Linked DNA regions of Homo sapiens: all the other regions are linked to region 3. Evidence: promoter capture Hi-C in 16 types of primary human blood cells and fetal thymus (Javierre and others, 2016). All regions are on one chromosome and are shown on one strand. Each heading gives the region's core, a stretch centred on a gene start or on the middle of the fragment in contact. The rest is flanking DNA. Distances are from core to core; before and after follow the strand shown. Region 1 overlaps TXNDC16 (thioredoxin domain containing 16). Region 2 overlaps TXNDC16 (thioredoxin domain containing 16). Region 3 holds the start of ERO1A (endoplasmic reticulum oxidoreductase 1 alpha).

Region 1 (2,700 bases), core at 94-2,593, 210 kb before region 3:
GTAACCAAACACCACCTGTTCCCCAGTAACCTATGGAAATAAAAAAAAATTTTAAAAAAGGAATGGTACACTTAGGGTTGAGTGTCTAGAATCAATTTCTTGAGTTTTCAAAAGCTTCAATGTATAAATAAGTTGTACATCAGTACATAGTTTCCACTAAATGAAACAAAATTTATGAAACTCTATTATTCATTTATCCAACAATTATTGAAAACCAGATATTCTGCAATGTAAGGCAATATGCCAAGCCCAGTAAGCTGATATAAGGCACACTACCTAACCATAAGGAACTTACATCAAGCACACCTAATCCATTATTACCTCTCTTACTAACAGGCCTCCCTCATTTTCCCCTATGTCTTTGCTGAGATGGTAGCACAGATATTTTCAGTTAAAGTCCATTCCTTGGATCTTTATTTGCCCACTATTAAATGAGGTTTCACAGGATGGTTAACATAAAAAGATCCTGGATATTAAAAAGCATTCCATCCATGAGGAGTAAACTATATAGTTTCAAGGACACGGGGATTTTTGATCTCTCATTAGACCATGAGACTGGGTCTTGAATCTGCCAAATTTTTATTTCCAGTATTTAACTGGAGTAACTGGCACAGAGTAGGCACTCATAAATGCTTGCTGAATGACTGACTTAAACCAAAAAGGTTGTTGTATTAACTGTGTAGCCACAAGTACTAAATACATAGGCTTTCTACTTTCTACTAAAGACAGTTCTATGAAGACAAATCAAAGTGAATGCTCCTAAGCACTCTTGAAACTCCTGGTTCATTAACTTAACCCTGGAGACACAAACATAGTAACTGAAATTTTATGTGGTTTTCTATATTTTTTGCATGACATAGTTTTACAAATAGCTACAGCTTAGAATCAGAATAATAAGCATGCATAGCACAGTACACTACCTTTCAGTTTAACTGCCACATCAATATAGGATTGCAAAAATGCCATGGATACTGCTTGCCCTATATGAAAATTAAAAATTCAACAGATATTACATGTATATCTACAAAGCATCCACACTGATATGTAACAAATATACAGATTTATGAGGTTTCCCAAAATTATTGTTAATCAGAAATATTCTACTATACATTTCTCAACATAGTCCAACCACTTAAGAGAGTTTCAAATGCAACTGATTTTCCGCACTTGTACTGCAAGGAATATAGCTAAATGGCTATGATTTGAAGATAAAAGCAATATACTTACTATAAATCTATAATAACTGTTAATATGTTAAAAATCATTAGCGTGAGTCACAATTTTTCAAAATTAATGAACATCTAGTTTAATCATTCACCTTTAATTTGTAAATCAGATATAAATCAATTGCACAATCCCAGAATCAGAAGTAAATGCTTCAATGCACACAGTCTACTTGAGACATACGAAAGCAATTTCATTTTACAACATGCAATACATGGAATGCCAAAAATTAAATCTGGGTTTTTAAATGTCCTAATATGTAACAGTCCTCTAAAGGCTCATACTCACAACCAGCATAGAAGAGTACTATGCTGTCAGAAGCCATCACTGTTGCATTAAATGTTTCTTCTGTTAGTTCCACTGTAAGTTCCAAAGGTAATTTTCTCTTCCTATCTCTGAAAACAGTTTCTGCCACTTCATCATCCTGAACATCTAAAATGTTGGAAAAGAAATTAATTTAAATATTGATGTATAATGAAAACTATTTAAGCTCTTCTCATAGGAAGCATATAATAATTCAGTACTTTATACAAACTTTTGAATTCATCCTATCTTAATAGTTAGGATGCATGATATTTAGAAAACTTTGCAGTTGCTTAACTGACTCTGAGATGCTTCCTGACCTAGAAGTTGGGAAGTTTTAGTCAATTTCAAAATTAAAATTTGTTCTACAAAGAATATTAATAGTGCCATTTTGTTTATTTTGCCTCTACTATATGCCAAGCATTATGACAGGCACTAGGAAAACTGGTAAACAAAACAGACATAGTCCTGACCACATGGAACTTCTATCTATGGAAAAGTCAGATAAACTGATCACTGAATAAATATATAATTATAAATTATGATCAATTTATGAAGAAAGGTAAAGGATACACTGAGAGATTATAACAGGGCTATTTAGATTGGGAAGCCCAAAGTCTGCCAGGTAGAGAATCAAGAAAAGAATGTTTTAGACAAAGACAATAACATATACGAAAGCTCTGAGACATAAAAGAGTTGAGCACATACAAGGCTGAGGGAAGGCAAATTTGACTAAGACAAGATGGGGCTGAAAGAATAAACAGCATGAGAAAACTCTAGGCTAGGCAGTGGCTAGATCATAAGAGGTCACATGAGCCAAGAAGTCTGGATTTTATCCAAAAAGCCTCAAGTTATGAGTGGATTCTGAATATGTGAAACCCTTCCTTTAGATAGACCAATCAATAGACTGATAGATTCATCCATCCATCCATCCATCCAACCATCCATGTACCTTCAAAAATACATTTGGATTCATAAATATTCTGTTGGAAGTTTGTAGAGATTGTACGGTAAGACAGATGGAGCATATAACTTGATTAAAGGATAAAGCTTCTTTATGAACATGAAAACATGAACATGAAAAGGAAAATAAAACTCAGGTAGGCAGAGAAGAAAGGCAGTGGTGGCATAAAGAGCAAAGAGAATGGCATGAGCAAAGGCACAGTGGCATGT
Region 2 (2,700 bases), core at 40-2,539, 160 kb before region 3:
AAACCCCATAGACATATCTCACATCCACCAGAAAGATCTCTCAAATACTAATCTGATCACATCACTTGCCTGCCTACAGCGCTTTGCTGGGCAATCAGGTGTTAAAGTAGTCAATCAGAACAACAAGCCAAACCAAAAGTAATAATCAAGGTTTCATTTACTTACTAGGAAAGTGCAAACAAGATGCAAAAAAGAGAGGTGCTGGCTCAACAATGTTAAATTTTTCATCCCTTGGAATGACCACAGGCAAGGGTCAGGTGGATACAGTGCAGACACAAGGTATCATCTCATTCCAAGGAGTCCCAAACAACAGGCCCCACTTCTTTATGGACCCATGGACTTGAGGGAACAAAAGGGGTGTGGGGTAAGAGCGGAAAGGCCCTGACTCAAAGATAAGAAAAGCACCTTAGCCAAGGGCTCTGGTAAGGAGGCCTCAAAATGGAGGTAGCGGGGCTAGGAATGCAGATGCACATATAAGCATAGGGGCCTGAAGGATTAGGAGAGGAATAGGCCTATGTCCTTGACCTCAATTTTCTCTAGAAAACTGCAATGTACTGCTTATGTGCCAAGTGTGGTATGGTGAGGGCAGCTTCCCCCTGTGAGGTTTGTCAGGCATAGCCTTGGAATATTGCATATGATCAGGCCTGAAAGATCACATAAGGATTTTGGCCTACAGCTGGACTCCTCACTTTTCAGTGGTTACCCAAAAGCCTAAACTTATACAGAGGGAAAACAAAAATTCCCTTCCTCTGACCCCATGTCTACTTTTCTACTCTTATCTCCTGCTTCACATTTTATACTCTGGCAAAACCACCACCTTCTCCCAACTACTTCTAACCTCTATGACAAGCTTGTCCAACCTGTGGCTCATGGGCTGCATGCAGCTCAGGACAGCTTTGAATATGGCCCAACACAAATTCGTAAACTTTCTTAAAACATTATGAGATGTTTCTGCAATTTTTTTTAAGCTCGTCAGCTATCATTAGTGTACTTTATGTGTGGACCAAGACAATTCTTCTTCCGATGTGGCCCAGGTAAGCCAAAAAAAAGATTGAACATGGCTGCTGTATGCCTTTGTCACAAAGTTCCTCTTGCTTTTCTCACCTTCCCCTTCTTCACCAAGCACTTACCCTTTAACATTCATCCCAACTGCCACTTCCTTCAGGAAGCCCACTTAATAAATATCCACCCTCATTCTAGACATGAATAACTACTCCCTTCTCTGTGGATCCATTAGCCCTTATGCATACATACTTCTACTATTTTACTTATCACATATTAATAATATTTTCTGTTTATCTGTCTGTGCAACACTAAATTCCTACAGAACAGAAGCCACATCCTATTCTGTTTTTTATAGCCAATGTCTAACAAGTGTCTGGCACACAGCAGGAACATGGGGAATAATCTATTTGTGGAATTCGTGTTCTATAAATCAGCATTAGTACAGCACTAAGAACAGGACACTACTAAAGCAGGACTGAATGAGCTGAGCCTCACGGAGTAACCAGTTTAGATAACAGGGTCCTCGGTCCTCTCCACATCTAGGGCCAGCTGTTTCAAAACCACTTTGTCATCAAGTTGTTCAATGTGGATATGCCACTCCAGGATTTGGTGTCAAATTTGGATTCATTCTTTATGAAAAGACTTCTTTTTCTGTTTCTTCACCCCCATTTCTGGGTCAAAGATAGTCATCAGGTATCCACCGGAAAAACAGCTGCTAACTAGTAAGCTTCCTGAGAACAAATGTCATATCTATTACTTGGACTTTTTGCTAAGCTTCACAGAACCCCCACCATCAAGATAGCTACCCCTCTGTCCCAGGAAAGGGATTCCAAGGAATTCCTTCCTCAAAAGACCATCTTCACTCATTACGATTGGCTCGTTAGTCTACAAGTATCAGGGCCCATGGTTGTCAGGAATTTCTAAAGGCCTTTTGTTAACATATTATTGGGACTGGAACATTTGTAAAGTGATAAGCACAACTTTTCACCTGTAAGTTTTGAATTTCCAGGAGTTAAACTACCAATTTTTGTAGGTGAGAGAGGAAGAGGAGACCCAAGCAGAAAAAGACAGCCAATGTCAGCAAAGGTCTTAGTGGACAACAGGCTTATAACATTAAATTAGAAAAGTCCATGTAAACCTGTGTCCTTAACAAGTCATATTTTCTAGCTCTGTTACCAAAGAGAATATCAGACTTAATTCAGGGGAAGAGTCCAAGAATGGACCCCAGATAGACCTAAATACCAGGCCTGGAGATTCCAGGCCAGAAAACTTAAACTTTCTCTCAGTAAACACTGAGGTATGTGTTGGGACAAACTCTTTCTGTACTAACTGAGCAAGCCCAGAGCTAGAGAATCCAGAAAGAAACCCAGCTGGGATAAGAAGAAAGCCAGGTACTTTAAAAATCCCAGTGAGAATAACAAAGATGAGTGGTGCATGCCTATAGGTCCCAGCTACTCGGGAGGCTGAGGTGGGAGGATCGCTTGAGCCTGGGAGGTGGAGGTTGCAGTAAGCCAATATCACGCCACTGTGCTCCAGCCTGGGAGACAAAGTGAGACTCCATCTCAAAACAAAAAACAAAAACAAAAAAAAAACAAAGATGAGCTTCCTACCTGGTACTATGGTCTAAATGTTTATGTCTCCCCAAAATTCATATGTTGAAATCCTAACTGCCAGTATGATGATATTAGGAGGTTA
Region 3 (2,700 bases), core at 33-2,532:
CTTTTCAATGTCTCAGTTGTAAAGTAGCAATTTTCTTTCAACTTCCCTTAGTTTCCTAGATAACACTCACCTCAACTCCCAAATCACTCAGCAAAACAACAAAATCCAAGAATGTAAAGTAGTGAAAGAGAAACCTTTCATAATATTTAAATGCATCTTTCCTTTGACATGGTATCATGCCCCTAAACACATAAAATGGTATTTCTGATAATAAATTAATAGCAAAATCCACTTAGGAATAACATGGATGCCTAACCCTTAATTTTGTATAAAACGTAATTTTTATCAACAGAGTCAACCAAAAAGTGGCTTTGACAAGAGTAATCACATTGAAATACTAGATACTGAAGATAATGGAAAACTGTAAGTTTCTCTCAATTTTTTGCTCAAGAAACCACATCTCTTACAGAAGGAAATGATCATAATCCGCTTGTAATTAAACTTGTGCACTGAAGAATAAGGACCTTCCTCCCAATTCGTACCAGCTTAACGGGTGTCACGATAAGAGAATCTCATTACATTCGAGAAAAAGAGCACACAGGACCAGAAACCAGAGGGCAACTGCAGTCCCAAAGACATCAGGTAGTTGGGCTTACACACAGAAAAACCGCAAGCAGCCATTCTTCCGCCTAACATCGAAATCTGAGATCAGCCCACAAACGTCTTAGCCAGAAAGGCTGGCGAAATGCACGCAGCACAGGTACTGGGTACACAAGTTCCTGGTCAAGAGAGAAGTGAGAAAGATCCAGGTTCTGTGAAAATAGCAAATACTGGCAGGGCATTATACACTGTGCACACTCTCCCCGGGCAGATAAGACCAACAAAGATGCATAAACCCACTCAACCGCGTGCACCCAACCCCTCTCCTGGTCCGAGGCACCGGAGGGCGCGGCGACGTCCAGGCTGCCGTGGAGGCCCGGTCCACGCCAAGCCAGACTCAGTCCCGGCCACCGGGCAGCAGCACCGGAGTCTCATTCCCGGTGGGAAGAGATGCAAGGACGCACCCCCAGCCGCTCACCCGCCAGGGCGTGCGGGACAGTGCACGCCGCGGAGGGCGCCGGGACCCTCAGCACCAACGCGCACATCGCTCACCTGGCAGAAGCACCTCTGTGCCGCTGTCTCCGGGGGCTGCTCCTCTCCGTGGCCCGAGCTGAGCAGCCACACGGCGCCCAGGAGGCCAAACAAGAATCCCCAGCCGCGGCCCATTGCAGCTCCGGCAGCTTGTCGCCCCACGCTTGGGAGGCCAGTCCGCACGCTCGGTCGCGGGCCGTGCGCCCTCAGATGAAGCCCGTGCGGGCCGGCCCCAGCGGCGCCCCACCTCCGGGCCGCCTCCCAGGCCCGCCTCGGCCCTCCTGCCTCTCAGCGATCGCCACCTCGCGACCCAGCCTGTGGACGTGCCGCGGCGCCCGCGCCGGCAGCCCGGGGCCTCGGACCGGTTCCTTCCCGCCGCGTGAGGCTGACGCACCGACCAGCTTCCCGGCTCGGCCCCGCCCGGTCCGCTGCGCCCGCGCCCGTCCCCGCCCCCGGCTCCCTGACGCCCCCGGCCTGGAGACGCAACCCGACGCGCACAACCCCAGACCCTGCGCGGGAGTCGGGGGTCCTTCCAGTTCCCAGAGCGAGAGCGAAAGCCGGAGGGGCCTGTGTTTTCCTGCGGGGTTGGGGGGCGGGGGGTGCCCGCCCCGCGCCGCCCCGCCCAGCCCCAGCCCGCTCACTCCCGGCCAATCCTTCCGTATCTCAATGCGAGACAATCAAATCGTACGAATTACGTGTCCACCGTGTTCCCGGCGGAGTCTTAAAGCTGAAAGGGATATTAGAGAGCATCTAGACCAGGGCAGCATATGTCATTTATATTTTTAGTAGCCACAGCAAAAGAGTAAAAATAACAGGTACATTTTATTTTTAAAATATTTTTATTTAACCCCGAATGTGCAAAATATTATTTCAAAATATAACCAACATTAAATTTATTCATAAGATATTTGACTTTTTTTGTCTTTGAAATCCAGTGTGTATTCGATGCGAACTAGACCCATTTCATAGTCAAATGTGGCTGGCTAGTGCCCACTGTATTAGACAGCGAGGGTGGAAGCCACCCGCTCATATCATAGGAAGAAACAGGCCTAGAGAAGTGAGGTAAGGTGAGCAAGGATTGGAGGTCCTCTGATACCCAGTCCTGGTCTTTTAACATTCAGAGTTGGGACTAGTCTATCCGCTTTTTTTTTTTCCAGACAGGGTCTCCCTGGGTCACCCAGGCTGGCCTGCAATGATGCGATCGCAGCTCACTGCAACCTCGAACTCCTGGGCTCAAGCGATCCTCCCACCTAAGCCTCCTGAGTAGCATGAACTACAGGCGTGCGCCACCACGCCTGGCTAATTTTATTTTTAGTAGAAACGAGGTTTCACCATGTTGCCCAGGCTGGTCTCAAACTCCTCAAGAGCGATTCTCCCGCCTCAGCCTCCCAAAGTGCTGGGATTACTTTTTTTTTTTTTTTCGAGGCGGAGTCTCGCTCTGTCGCCCAGGCTGGAGTGCAGTGGCGTCATCTTGGCTTACTGCAATCTCTGCCTCCCAGGTTCAAGAGATTCTCCTGCCTGAGCTTCCCCAGTAGCTGGGATTACAGGCGTAAGCCACCACACACTCGGCTAATTTTTGTATTTTCAGTAGAGAAGGGGTTTTGCCATGTTGGCCAGGCTGGTCTCTAG

Evidence for each region. Contacts are between HindIII fragments. The CHiCAGO score rates a contact against its expected background, and 5 or more counts as called.
Region 1: a contact is called between a fragment that was not itself captured here and the fragment with the promoter of ERO1A in region 3, in 1 of 17 cell types (megakaryocytes). The highest score is 5.0, in megakaryocytes.
Region 2: a fragment that was not itself captured here is called in contact with the fragment with the promoter of ERO1A in region 3 in 1 of 17 cell types (megakaryocytes); the score reaches 5.2 in megakaryocytes.

Annotation. Positions count from the first base shown.
Region 1 is chr14:52,481,310-52,484,009 of GRCh38, forward strand. TXNDC16 (thioredoxin domain containing 16) reads right to left here. Exons shown (of 21, transcript NM_020784.3): 13 at 1,513-1,656; 14 at 921-980. Among named protein-coding and RNA genes, the nearest start is that of TXNDC16, 70 kb to the right of the region's middle. The HindIII fragment of the contact is 2,463 bases long and covers 113-2,575 here.
Region 2 is chr14:52,533,455-52,536,154 of GRCh38, forward strand. The region is part of intron 6 of TXNDC16 (thioredoxin domain containing 16); the gene reads right to left. Among named protein-coding and RNA genes, the nearest start is that of TXNDC16, 18 kb to the right of the region's middle. The HindIII fragment of the contact is 882 bases long and covers 849-1,730 here.
Region 3 is chr14:52,694,276-52,696,975 of GRCh38, forward strand. ERO1A (endoplasmic reticulum oxidoreductase 1 alpha) reads right to left here and starts at 1,283. Exons shown (of 16, transcript NM_014584.3): 1 at 1,093-1,283. The coding sequence starts at 1,206. RefSeq lists enhancers at 808-1,309, 915-964 and a silencer at 1,215-1,754. The HindIII fragment of the contact is 13,242 bases long and covers 1-2,700 here.